3 separate regions of the Homo sapiens genome follow, and regions 1 and 2 are each linked to region 3. Evidence: promoter capture Hi-C in human tissues and cell types (Jung and others, 2019). All regions are on one chromosome and are shown on one strand. The core of a region is centred on a gene start or on the middle of the fragment in contact, and the rest is flanking DNA. Distances in the headings are between cores, read along the strand shown. Region 1 holds the start of GML (glycosylphosphatidylinositol anchored molecule like). Region 2 overlaps LY6E-DT (LY6E divergent transcript). Region 3 holds the start of CYP11B2 (cytochrome P450 family 11 subfamily B member 2).

Evidence for each region. Contacts are between HindIII fragments. The study calls those that stand out against the background at their distance.
Region 1: the fragment with the promoter of GML here is called in contact with the fragment with the promoter of CYP11B2 in region 3 in 2 of the 25 tissues and cell types used here (mesendoderm cells and neural progenitor cells).
Region 2: a fragment that was not itself captured here is called in contact with the fragment with the promoter of CYP11B2 in region 3 in 4 of the 25 tissues and cell types used here (H1 embryonic stem cells, pancreas, spleen and 1 more).

Annotation. Positions count from the first base shown.
Region 1 is chr8:142,832,736-142,836,728 of GRCh38, reverse strand. It overlaps GML (glycosylphosphatidylinositol anchored molecule like), which reads right to left and starts at 1,928. Exons shown (of 4, transcript NM_002066.3): 1 at 1,861-1,928. The HindIII fragment of the contact is 25,891 bases long and covers 403-3,993 here.
Region 2 is chr8:143,005,780-143,009,488 of GRCh38, reverse strand. The region is part of intron 1 of LY6E-DT (LY6E divergent transcript); the gene reads left to right. Among named protein-coding and RNA genes, the nearest start is that of LY6E-DT, 11 kb to the left of the region's middle. RefSeq lists enhancers at 141-953, 954-1,767 and a silencer at 1,009-1,098. The HindIII fragment of the contact is 5,135 bases long and covers 1-3,709 here.
Region 3 is chr8:142,916,522-142,920,116 of GRCh38, reverse strand. CYP11B2 (cytochrome P450 family 11 subfamily B member 2) reads left to right here and starts at 2,274. Exons shown (of 9, transcript NM_000498.3): 1 at 2,274-2,515; 2 at 2,903-3,058. The coding sequence starts at 2,277. RefSeq lists an enhancer at 987-1,268 and a promoter at 255-2,275. The HindIII fragment of the contact is 14,293 bases long and covers 1-3,595 here.

The sequences.
Region 1 (3,993 bases), core at 679-3,178, 83 kb after region 3:
GTCCAGGCCTTCCCACAGGCTCCTGGAGAGAGGAGAGGGCACACATCCCCAGTAGTAACATACAACCACCTCCAAGCTTTCCAGCTATTTTGTACGCAACGCAAGATGTTCAATAAAAACATCACAGGATATGTAAGAATTAGGAATAAATTATTGCTAATCAATAAAACAACAATAGAAATAAACCCACAGTTCACTCAAATGTTGACATTAGCATACAAGTACTTTAAAAATTCTAATGAGAGCATTAAAGAGAAAAAGATTACTAAATTGATTTTTTAAAGATGAAAAAATTTTAAAAATAACAGGATGTGTAAGAGGCAGAAATAAGGGACTATAGTATGAATTATTTCTACACCACCATACTTCTGACCCTAAATATGTGAGTTTTTACACACAAACCAGTTCTCCAACTCTCTGGACACTGACCGTCCAACATTTCAATTCAATTCTGACACTGCCTTGAGCAGGGCAGACCCCACAGGTGAAGGGCTCAGTCCCACCCTAATGCCCCCACTTCAGATGCCAATCACAAGTCTGGGCCACGTGTACTTCTGACTGCCCAGTTATAAATCAAGGGTTTCCAAGACCACCTCCTCCTAGATAATTTGCTAGAACAGCTTACAGAGCACAAGAAAACAGTTTACTTACTATTACCAGTTTATCACAAAGGTGACAACTCAGGAACCGTGAAACGGAAGAGATGCATGGGGCAAATACAGGGTAAGCTTAAGATGGCTTCAGACAAAAAGAGTAGGAATATCTTATTATCAGCAGACCCACTACAAGAAATATTGAGTTCATAACATATATAGAAATAAAGTATATGACAATATCACAAAGCAAAGGAGGCTGTAGAACTGAAAGGCAGAAACAGTTACGTCAGCGTCGGCGAGTGCAGGCTTCCAGGCAAAAAACATTGCAAGAGGTGACAAGGACAGACACTTCAGAGCCGAATGCAGTTTCGGACACTGAGAGTCCATTTTCTGACTATGGTGGCATTAAGCAATAAGTCACCCCAGAAGGATTAACTGGAAAATCCTCATCTGTTTGGAACTTAAGAACACACCTCCAAATAAGAAATAGACCCCCAAATCCTTCTCAATAGAAGTCAAGAATATTTTGGGCAAAGTCATAATAAAGAATGAAAAATAGAAACCTGGCAGAAGTAGCCTGAAGGGACACGGAAGGAAAAGCAGGGCTCCATTAGAAAAGGCAAAAAGACTGGAAACGAAGGCCTCCTTCTCTCCTTCGAAAGCAAGGAGCCAGAAAAGAACGAGCAGCAGAACGTGGAACAGGCTGCGGCCCGAGACCCGCGCCTTGGGGAATCACAGACAGTGTGGGGGTGGGCGGCCCCGGGACACCCCGAGGGAAGGGGACTCAAGAACTGAACGGAGCCCCAGCCCCAGACTCTCGAGGGAAGTTGAGCTGTAAGGGGAGGGGGGCCCCAGGGAAGCGGAGTTGGGGTGCTGGCATCTCCCTGGGACCCCTGAGCATAGTTGGGGGGTCTCCCTGGGACCCTGATGGGAGTGGAGCTCGAGAGGTCCCCCAGTACCCCTGAGAGGAGCTGAATTAGGGGGTCTCCCTGGGACCCTGAGGGGAATGGAGCAGGGGGCGTCTCCCCAGGAACCTGCGGGGAGTGGAGTTTTGAGGGGTCCCCCTGGCACCCCTGAGAGGAGCTGAGTTCGGGGGGTCTCCCTGGGGCTCCGAGGGGAGTGGGGGCACCCCATCCAGGGAAGCGCGGCGCACCCCCGGCGGCGTCCTGGCGGCCCAAGCAGCTGACGAGGAGGCTGCCTCAGCTGGGCCCCTGGGCAGACTCCAGTCTCACGCCTGGGTCCCGACCCGCCTCAGGAAACTGACCTGTGCCCCTCGGAGCCCCGCAGTGTGCGTGCCCGCCGCCTCCAGCCATCTGAGCCTCCCGCGCCGACCTCCCCACCCGCTTTCTGGAACTTTCGGGGGCCTCCGCCGGCCGCACAGCCCCGCCCTCCTTCCGGACCCTCAAAGCCCCGTCCCCAGGCTCCAGGCCTCCAGCCCATCTGCCAGTGTTCAAAGGTGGGCAGGGTCCCCCTTGGGGCTCCCAGGTGAAAATATTTCTCACAGAAATCTGCACACCCTGGCTCCATCCACGCTCCCTTTAGGAAAGCCACGGGGAATGTTCTAGAAGCGCACGGCCCTGGCTGCTGGAGAAACGGGACAGCAGCCACCCTCGGCAGCCTGTTGGCACCGCCCAGGCCCACCCTGCCCTCAAGGTCCCAGTCCACCTGCCTCGTTCCTGGACCCTCCCTCTAGGGGGTCCCGCCATCACCATAACCCCTGGGGACCCCGGGAGCCCCTCCGCTCAGGGTGCGACCCCGTCGCCTCTGGAGCCGGCCCTGTCCCTAACCCTGACCAAAGCCAGCTTGAGCGGTGCCCTTGCCCTTCAGCCCCGCCAGCGCCCACCTGTGCAGAGGTTTCAGGGGGAGACCTGCCTGGCTTTCGCTTGAGCTCCTGCCATTTTGCCTTCAAGCTGTGTGTGGCCAGGGACAGCTGGCTTCACCCGAGCATCTCCTACACAGTGTGGCTTGGCTCTTGTCGAAGTCATATAAAATAGGTGAATTTCTGAAATTGAAATGTTTTATTTGGGAGGAAATAACTGCAATTAGGGGCACGGGGGCAGACTGGCTGGCCTTCAGTATGTCCAAAGAACAAAGAAAAGGCTTTTTTAAATTCGCGGTGGCTTACACCTGTAATCCCAGCATTTTGGGAGGCTGAGGCGGGCAGATCATTTGAGGTCAGGAGTTCAAGACCAGAGTGATCAACATGGTGAAACCCCGTCTCTACTAAAAATACAAAAATTAGCTGGGTGTGGTGGTGTGTGCCTGTAGTCCCAGCTACTCAGGAGGCTGAGGCAGGAGAATCCCTTGATCCCAGGAGGTGGAGGTTGTAGTGAGCCGAGATCGTGCCATTGTGCTCCAACCTGCAGGACAAATCAAGTCTCTGTCTCAAAAAAAAAGGAACTATGTCTCTTTTTTATAAAGAAGAGAAATAGTACATATTGCTGTCTGAGTTTCATTGGCACTAGTAGGATTTTGGGGAGCTGGCAAGCTCTGGTTGATGAGTGAATCAGTGACGGCAGTGGGTGAACCGAGGCTTAGAGTTGCAGCAGGTGGTCTCAGTAGCCATCAGATAAAACTGGTTTCAGGTTACCGCAGACAGTTTCAGCAGTCAGGCCTCAGAGAAGTACATTCTTGGAGCAATGTTTTCTATCCTGAGTGCTGAATGGTCTCCCTACCTGGCACTCTGCCTTAGTTGGGTGTGACAAGGGTGACCCAATTTGTATGCTCACCTTTCACACCGAATCCTCAGCTCGGACGGGTTTCCCTTTCTAGGCTTTGACTTTCCCCTTGAACCTCATCCCACACACCTGTTCCATCGGGGCCACTGGCTTATGATGGAGACCAGTGGTATGACTGTGGCAGGCTCCTTCTAGGGGCACTCTGTCTCCTGGGATCTGCCACACTGGGGGGGATTCTACTTGGCCTTCTCTGACTCCCCAGGGTCCCTCCCACCACAGCACTTGGAGGCTCTTCCATGGGAAAACTGTCTTGATCTTTAGGTACCTGGAGATTCTGGGCCACTTTGGTTCCCCGTGAGCCAAGACGGCACTCTGGTTTGCATTCCCTACCGGAGTCCCTGTCTGTAGCCAGCCTGGCTTTCAGCTGGTGCCCAAAGTGACAAATGTATCTGCAATGACAAAGGGTACCCTGGGAAGGGCTCGCCCTCTGCGGAATTTCAGTTCATGCAGGCCTTGGTGCTTCCACATCTGTCCAAGGGCCTTTCAAATGTGACTTTTAACTCTGTGGATTGATTTGCCCGGTTGTCACATTCTGAGCAGCCACAACCTACTGCATCCCATGTAGAAGTGGAAGTGACCTGATTTTTTCCTGACTTTTCAAGGCTGTATGTTTACATTTGCCTCCAATCATTCCTATATGGGAATTCCTTGGGAGTCTA
Region 2 (3,709 bases), core at 1,082-3,581, 89 kb before region 3:
TGGTGGTGCATGCCTGTAATCCTAGCTACTCAGGAGACTGAGGCAGGGGAATCGCTTGAACCCGGTAGGCTGAGGTTGCGGTGAGCCAAGATCGTGCCATTGCACTCCAGCCTGGGCAACAAGAGTGAAACTCCATCTCAAAAAAAAAAAAAAAAAAAAAAAAAGAGCTCTAATTAACTGAATTAAAGAAAAATAGGCTAAAAGTTGGAAGACAGCCGACAACGTAGCCAGGTGAAACAGCTGCCACCGAGGGGCAGAGACAACTGGCATGTTTCCAACAGATCTTCAGAGGGAAGGCACCAGGAGTGGACTGCGGGACACCCAGAGTGGACTGCAGGAGGACACAGAAGCTAGGCTGAAGCGGGAGGAAGCTGGGAACCCTGCACGGGGCCACTGCGCACTGGGACTCGTTACTGGTCCCCAAGACTCAGGGAGAATGGGTGAGTTGAACTGGCAAGGAGGAGCCCACTGTCATTACGGGCCTCTGGAATCCCGGCAGGAGGAGATTAACCACATGGACATTCGAGGTGGCAGAGAGAGCTGCCTAGAGAAGGTGCGGGGGCAGCAGCCAGCTGAGGCAGAGCCCGGAGGGTTTGGTGCAGGAGCGTCTGTAGTGGAGGGCCATCCCCCAGGCTCAAATTCCTCCCATAGGAGATTTTAGCCCTAGGGGAGCTGTTGTATGTGATCTTTGTGGGGTGGTCTTGCCCATCAGATGGGGCCAGTCTGACCCGAGCATGCCTTGGTCTGCTGGCCTCTCCCAGGGCCCCGGCCTGGCCACGCCTGCTTGCAGGGCAGCTCTGGGTGCCCTGGGGGCCTGCAGCATAGCTTCTGCACTGGCAGACCATGCCTGATTGGTGGAGAGCTCCAGCAGGGCAGCCCCCACATCCCTGTGCCAGCCTGCCCACTGCCTCCCACACTGTAGCTTCTCCAGGGCCCACTGTCACCCCCCATCTTGCTTTTGCCAGTGCATGTCTGTGCAGGTGGGTTTTGCTTTCCTTGCCCGCCAGTGTACCTGTGTGTTTGCACCCTGCCCTGCCATTGCTGTGGCAGGAGTACCGTTTGCCCAACGCCCCCTGCTGACTGCCATTGCAGTTGGAGCCTTGGCAGACACAGAGCCAGCCAGCCCCACCTCCCTTGCACCCCACTCTTGCACCAACACTGTTGCGGGAGTGAAACTAGGCACGGAATAGGGACCACCCTGCCTGTGGGGCACAAAGAATGCCACAGGCCTGGGCCTGCCGGTGCTCCACCTCCATCCCAACACCACCGCCAGCATGGCTGTTGCCAGCAGGGGGCCCTGCCCCCCAGGTGCTTTCGTCTGCCACTGTGGTGAACACCTGCACAGAGGCAGGCACCCCAGCACTTGCTAGCACCCTGCCACAGCCGATGAACGTGCACCCTGTGCTGCTGCCACCACGGCTGCTGGCATGTGCAAGCAAGAATGGATCCCGCTGCCACTGCACTGCAAAATGCACTGGCTGGCACCACCTATCAGAGTGTAGTGACCGGTAGTGAGGAGCACCTTGATCCCTCAGTGCAGTTGATTCCTAACCTCCGGGAGCCAGAGAACAAAGTTGGTGCCTGATACAAGTACCCCAGTTAGAGCACACAGTCTGGGAGTTGGGAACTGAGCCTTGGCCCCCTAAAATCATCCAGAAACAAAGCCAGTCAGCTGAATCCAACTTATACTACAATCAAATCCTCAAGGTCATCAAATAGGATAAAAGAAAAAAAAATCATCCAAAGGTTAGCAACTTCAAAGAGCATAGGAACATCAGCCCAAAAGATAAGAAAGAACCAGTTCAAGAACCCAGACAACACAAGCCAGAGTGCCTTCTTTCCTCCAAATGACTGCCCCACCTCTCCAGCAAGGGTTCTGAACCAGGCTGAGATGGCTGAAATGACAGAAATAGAATTCAGAATATGGATAGGAACCAAGATCATTGAGGTGTAGGGGTATGTGGAAACCCAATCCAAGGATGATAGGAGTCACAATAAAATGATGCAGGAGCTGACAGACAAAATTGCCAGTATAGAAAAGAGCATAACTGACCTGATAGCACCGAAAACCACACTATAAGAATTTCATAATGCAATCAGAAGTATTAATAGCAGAATATACCAAGTGGAGGAAAGAATCTCAGTGCTTGAAGACTAGCTTTCTGAAATAAGACAGTCAGACAAGAATGGAGACAAAAGAACTTTGAAAAGGAATGAACAAAACCTCCAGGAAATATGGGATTCTGTAATCCAAATCTGTGACTCATTGGTGTCCCTGAAAGAGATGGGGAGAGTGTAAGCAACTTGGAAGACAGATTTCAGGATATCATCCATGAAAACTTCCCCAGCCTAGCTAGAGAGGCTGCCATCCAAATCCAGGAAACTCAGAGTAAGATACTCTATGAGAAGATCATCCCCAAGACACATAATCATGAAATTCTTCAAGGTCGAAATGAAAGGAAAAAAGTTAAAGGCAGCCAGAGAGAAAGGCCAGGTCACCTACAAAGGAACACCTATCAGACTAAGAGCAGACCTCTCAGTAGAAACCCTACAAGCCAGAAGAGATTGGGGGCCAATATTCAACATTCCTAAAGAAATTCCAACCCAGAATTTCATATCTGGCCAAACTAAGCTTCATAAGTGAAGGAGAAATAAGATCCTTTTCAGACAAGTAAATGCTGAGGGAATTTGTCACCACCAGACCTGCCTCACAAGAACTCCTGAAGGCAGCACTAAATATGGAAAAGAAAGACTGTTACCAGCCACTACAAAAACATACCAAAGTACACAGACCAGTTGCACTATAAAGCAACCACACAAACAAATCTGCATAATAATCAGCTAACATGATGACAGGAGCAAATCCACATATATCAATACTAACCTTGCATGTAAATGGGCTAAATGCCCCAATTAAAAGGCACAGAGTTGCATGCTGGATAAAGAACCAATACCCATCGGTATGTTGTCTTCAAGAGATCCATTTCACATGCAGTGACATCCATAGGCTCAAATAAAAGGATGGAGAAAAATCTACCAAGCAAATGGAAAACAACAAATCAGGGGTTGCAATCCTAACTTCAGACAAAACAGACATTAAGCCGACAAAGATCAAAAAAGACAAAGATGGGCATTACATAATGGTAAAACGTTCAATTCAACAAGAAGACCTAACTATCCTAAATATATATGCACCCAACATAGGAGCACCCACATTTATAAAGCAAGTTCTTAAAGACCTTCAAAGAGACTTAGACTCTCACACAATAATAGTGGGAGACTTTAACACCCCACTGACAGTATTAGACAGATCATTAAGGCAGAAAATTCACAAAAAAATTCAGGAGCTGAACTCAGCACTGGAACAAATGGACCTGATAGACACCTACAGAACTCTCCACCCCGAAACAACAGAATATGCATTCTTCTCATTGCCACATGACACATACTCTAAGATAGATCACATGATTGAACAAAAAACACTCCTCAGCAAATACAAAAGAACTGAAATCATAACAACCAATTTCTCAGACCACAGCACAACCAAATTAGAAATCAAGACTAAGAAATTCACTCAAAATCATGCAATTATATGGAAATTGAATAACCTGCCCCTGATTGACTTTTGCGTAGATGATGAAATTAAGTCAGAAATCAAGACGTTCTTTCAAACTAATAAGAACAAAGATACAGCATACCAGAATCTCTG
Region 3 (3,595 bases), core at 1,025-3,524:
ACAGATTCAAGCAGCTCAGAGAACACCAAGCAGAAAACAAAACAAAACAAACGTCTCCACCTAAGCATATCATACTCAAACTTTGGAAAAATCAAAGATGAAAAAGAAACCAGGGGTTGGGTGGGGGACACCTTATCTATATAGGAGTAAAGCTAAGAATTACATGTGACTTACCCTCAGAAACCATGCAAGCAAGAAGACAGTGGAGGGAAACATTTCAAGTGTTAGAAGAAAAAAGAAAATACATCAACCTAGAATTCTGCATCCTGTGAAATTATCCTTCAAAAGTGAACATAAATATTTTCTCAGGTAAATAAAAATTGAGGGGATTCGCTGCCAATAGAACTGACTTGCCAGAAATGTTTTTTAAAAGTTCTGCAGAGAGAAAGAAAATGATACAGGTCAGCAACCCTGAGCTACATAAAGAAAGGAAGAGCATTTCAGAAGGAATCAGTAAAGAGAAAATGAAGTCTTTTATTTTTTCTTAATCTTAATTGATCTAAGAGTTTGCTAAAACAAAACAACAACAATAAAAATAGGCCGGGCGCGGTGACTCACCACACCTGTAATCCCAGCACTTTGGGAGGCCGAGGTGGGCAGATCACCTGAGGTCAGGAGTTCGAGACTAGCCTGGCCAACACGGTGAAACCCCGTCTCTACTAAAAATACAAAAATTAGCTGGGCGTGGTGGTGGCACATGCCTGTAATCCCAGCTACTTGGGAGGCTGAGGCGGGAGAATTGCTTGAACCCGGGAGACAGAGGTCGCAGTGAGCCGAGATCACACCATTGCACTCTAGCCTGGGCGACAGAGTGAGACTCTGTCTCAAAAATAAATAAATAAATAAATAAATAAATAATAAAAATAAATAAATAAAAGCCAGAAAGTGTATTTGATGATCATAGTTATGTATATGTGAAATGAAGGACAGCAATGATGCAAGGGATGGGTGAGTGGAATTAAAAATATCTTATTATTTATTTATTTTGAGATGGAGTCTTGCTTTGCTGCCCAGGTTGGAGTGCAGTGGGATGATCTCAACTCACTGCAACCTCCGCCTCCTTGATTCAAGCATTCATCTTGACTCAGCCTGCTGAGAAGCCGAGATTACAGGCATGCGCCACCACACCTGGCTAATTTTGTATTTTTAGTAGAGACAGGGTTTTGCCATGTTGGCCAGGCTGGTCTCGAACTCCTGACCTCAGGTGATCCACCTGCATCAGCCTCCCAAAGTGCTGGGATGACAGACATGAGCCACTATGCCCAGCCTAAGAATATCTGATGATTATAAAGTGCTTGCATTACCTCTGAAGCTGTATAGTGTTATATGAAGGTGGAGTTGGAGAGATGAGTTTTAAGCGTATATTGCAAACTCTAGGGCAACCACTAAAGAAGTGAGACCCAGCCTCTAGAAAAAAAAAAAAAAAAGGAAATTAGCTATCAAGCCACGAAAAGAAATGGAGGAACCTTAAACGCATATTACTAACTGAGATACGTCACTTTGAAAAGGCTACAAACGGTGTCATTCCAACTATACAACATTTTGGAAAAGGCCAAAGCATGGTGATGATAAAAAGATCGGAGATGTCAGGGACTGGGGCAGGAGGGATGAGCAGGCAGAGCACAGGTTTTCTTTTCCTCTTTTTAAGACAGTGAAAATACTCCTAGGATCCTGCAAGGAGGGATACAAATTACATACATTTGTCAAAACCCACAGCATGTTGACCACCAGGAGGAGACCCCATGTGACTCCAGGACCCTGGTTGATAACAACGTATCGAGATTCCTCACATGGAACCAGTGCGCTCCTGTGGTGGAGGGTGTACCTGTGTCAGGGCAGGGGGTACGTGGACATTTTCTGCAGTTTTTGATCAATTTTGCAATGAACTAAATCTGTGGTATAAAAATAAAGTCTATTAAAAGAATCCAAGGCTCCCTCTCATCTCACGATAAGATAAAGTCCCCATCCATTTTACTCCTCTCAGCCCTGGAGAAAGGAGAGGCCAGGTCCCACCACCTTCCACCAGCATGGACCCCCAGTCCAGACCCCACGCCTTTTCTCAGCATCCTCAGACCAGCAGGACTTGCAGCAATGGGGAATTAGGCACCTGACTTCTCCTTCATCTACCTTTGGCTGGGGGCCTCCAGCCTTGACCTTCGCTCTGAGAGTCTCAGGCAGGTCCAGAGCCAGTTCTCCCATGACGTGATATGTTTCCAGAGCAGGTTCCTGGGTGAGATAAAAGGATTTGGGCTGAACAGGGTGGAGGGAGCATTGGAATGGCACTCAGGGCAAAGGCAGAGGTGTGCGTGGCAGCGCCCTGGCTGTCCCTGCAAAGGGCACGGGCACTGGGCACTAGAGCCGCTCGGGCCCCTAGGACGGTGCTGCCGTTTGAAGCCATGCCCCAGCATCCAGGCAACAGGTGGCTGAGGCTGCTGCAGATCTGGAGGGAGCAGGGTTATGAGCACCTGCACCTGGAGATGCACCAGACCTTCCAGGAGCTGGGGCCCATTTTCAGGTAAAGCCCTCCCTGGCCCTCGCTGGGAACACCCAGATCCCTGCCCCTGCTGCCCAGGACCCTGCCAGGCACTCAGCACTGCCATTCCCAGCAGGTCCCGGCACTCTGCATCCTTTGGAGGATGGGGAAGGAGTGCAGCACATGCTGGTCTGTGGTGCTGCCAGGGCAGGGGATAGTGCAGAGAAAACCCCAGCTCACTGCAGAGAGGGCAGGACTCAGAAGCACTAAAGTTGAAAGGTTCCAGGGAGCCAGCAGGAGGGCTTTAGCTGTGAAGCCGCTAATCCAGGAGCAGGGAGGGTGGACAGGAGACACTTTGGATTGGGACTGCAGGGTGGGGCCACGAGGGACATGACCCCGTCCAGCAGGGCCTCCTGCTTGGCCCCACAGGTACAACTTGGGAGGACCACGCATGGTGTGTGTGATGCTGCCGGAGGATGTGGAGAAGCTGCAACAGGTGGACAGCCTGCATCCCTGCAGGATGATCCTGGAGCCCTGGGTGGCCTACAGACAACATCGTGGGCACAAATGTGGCGTGTTCTTGTTGTAAGCGGCGAGTTGGGAGCTGAGAGCTGGGAGCAGGGTGGGCAGCCTGGGTGTAGGGGGGAGGCGAGAGAGGTAGGACCCAAAAGCACATCTGCCCTGGGCCCCTGTGGTGGGCAGTGAGGGTGAGCACCCGGCCCAGAGGACGGCCATCCTGTGGGGTCGCGTCTGCACTGTGGGTTGGGGAAGCAGGGCGGTGGTGGAGAAATGGGCACGGGCACCTCTGCAGAGAAGACGCAGAGCAATGAGCCCTTCTGTGTAGTGAGAACCCGCTCTGCACCAACCTCGGCGGCTGCTTTCTCTTGCGGTCTGGGGACTGTCCTTCCCATAGGTCAGAAAACTGAGGCCCTGAGAAGGGGACTTCCACTGGCCCAGGTCACAGGCTGAGTGCTGAGCCTGGTGTTCGCCGGGGCCACAGCCTCCCTCAGGGCGCTCAGGGTCCCTGCAGTCCTGGCAAACCTTCCTGATGGGGACAGTCCGGGGCAGGAGGCAGGTGGGGACGCAGGTGGCTGGTGGTTCCGTTGTTCTCAGAAGCAAGGC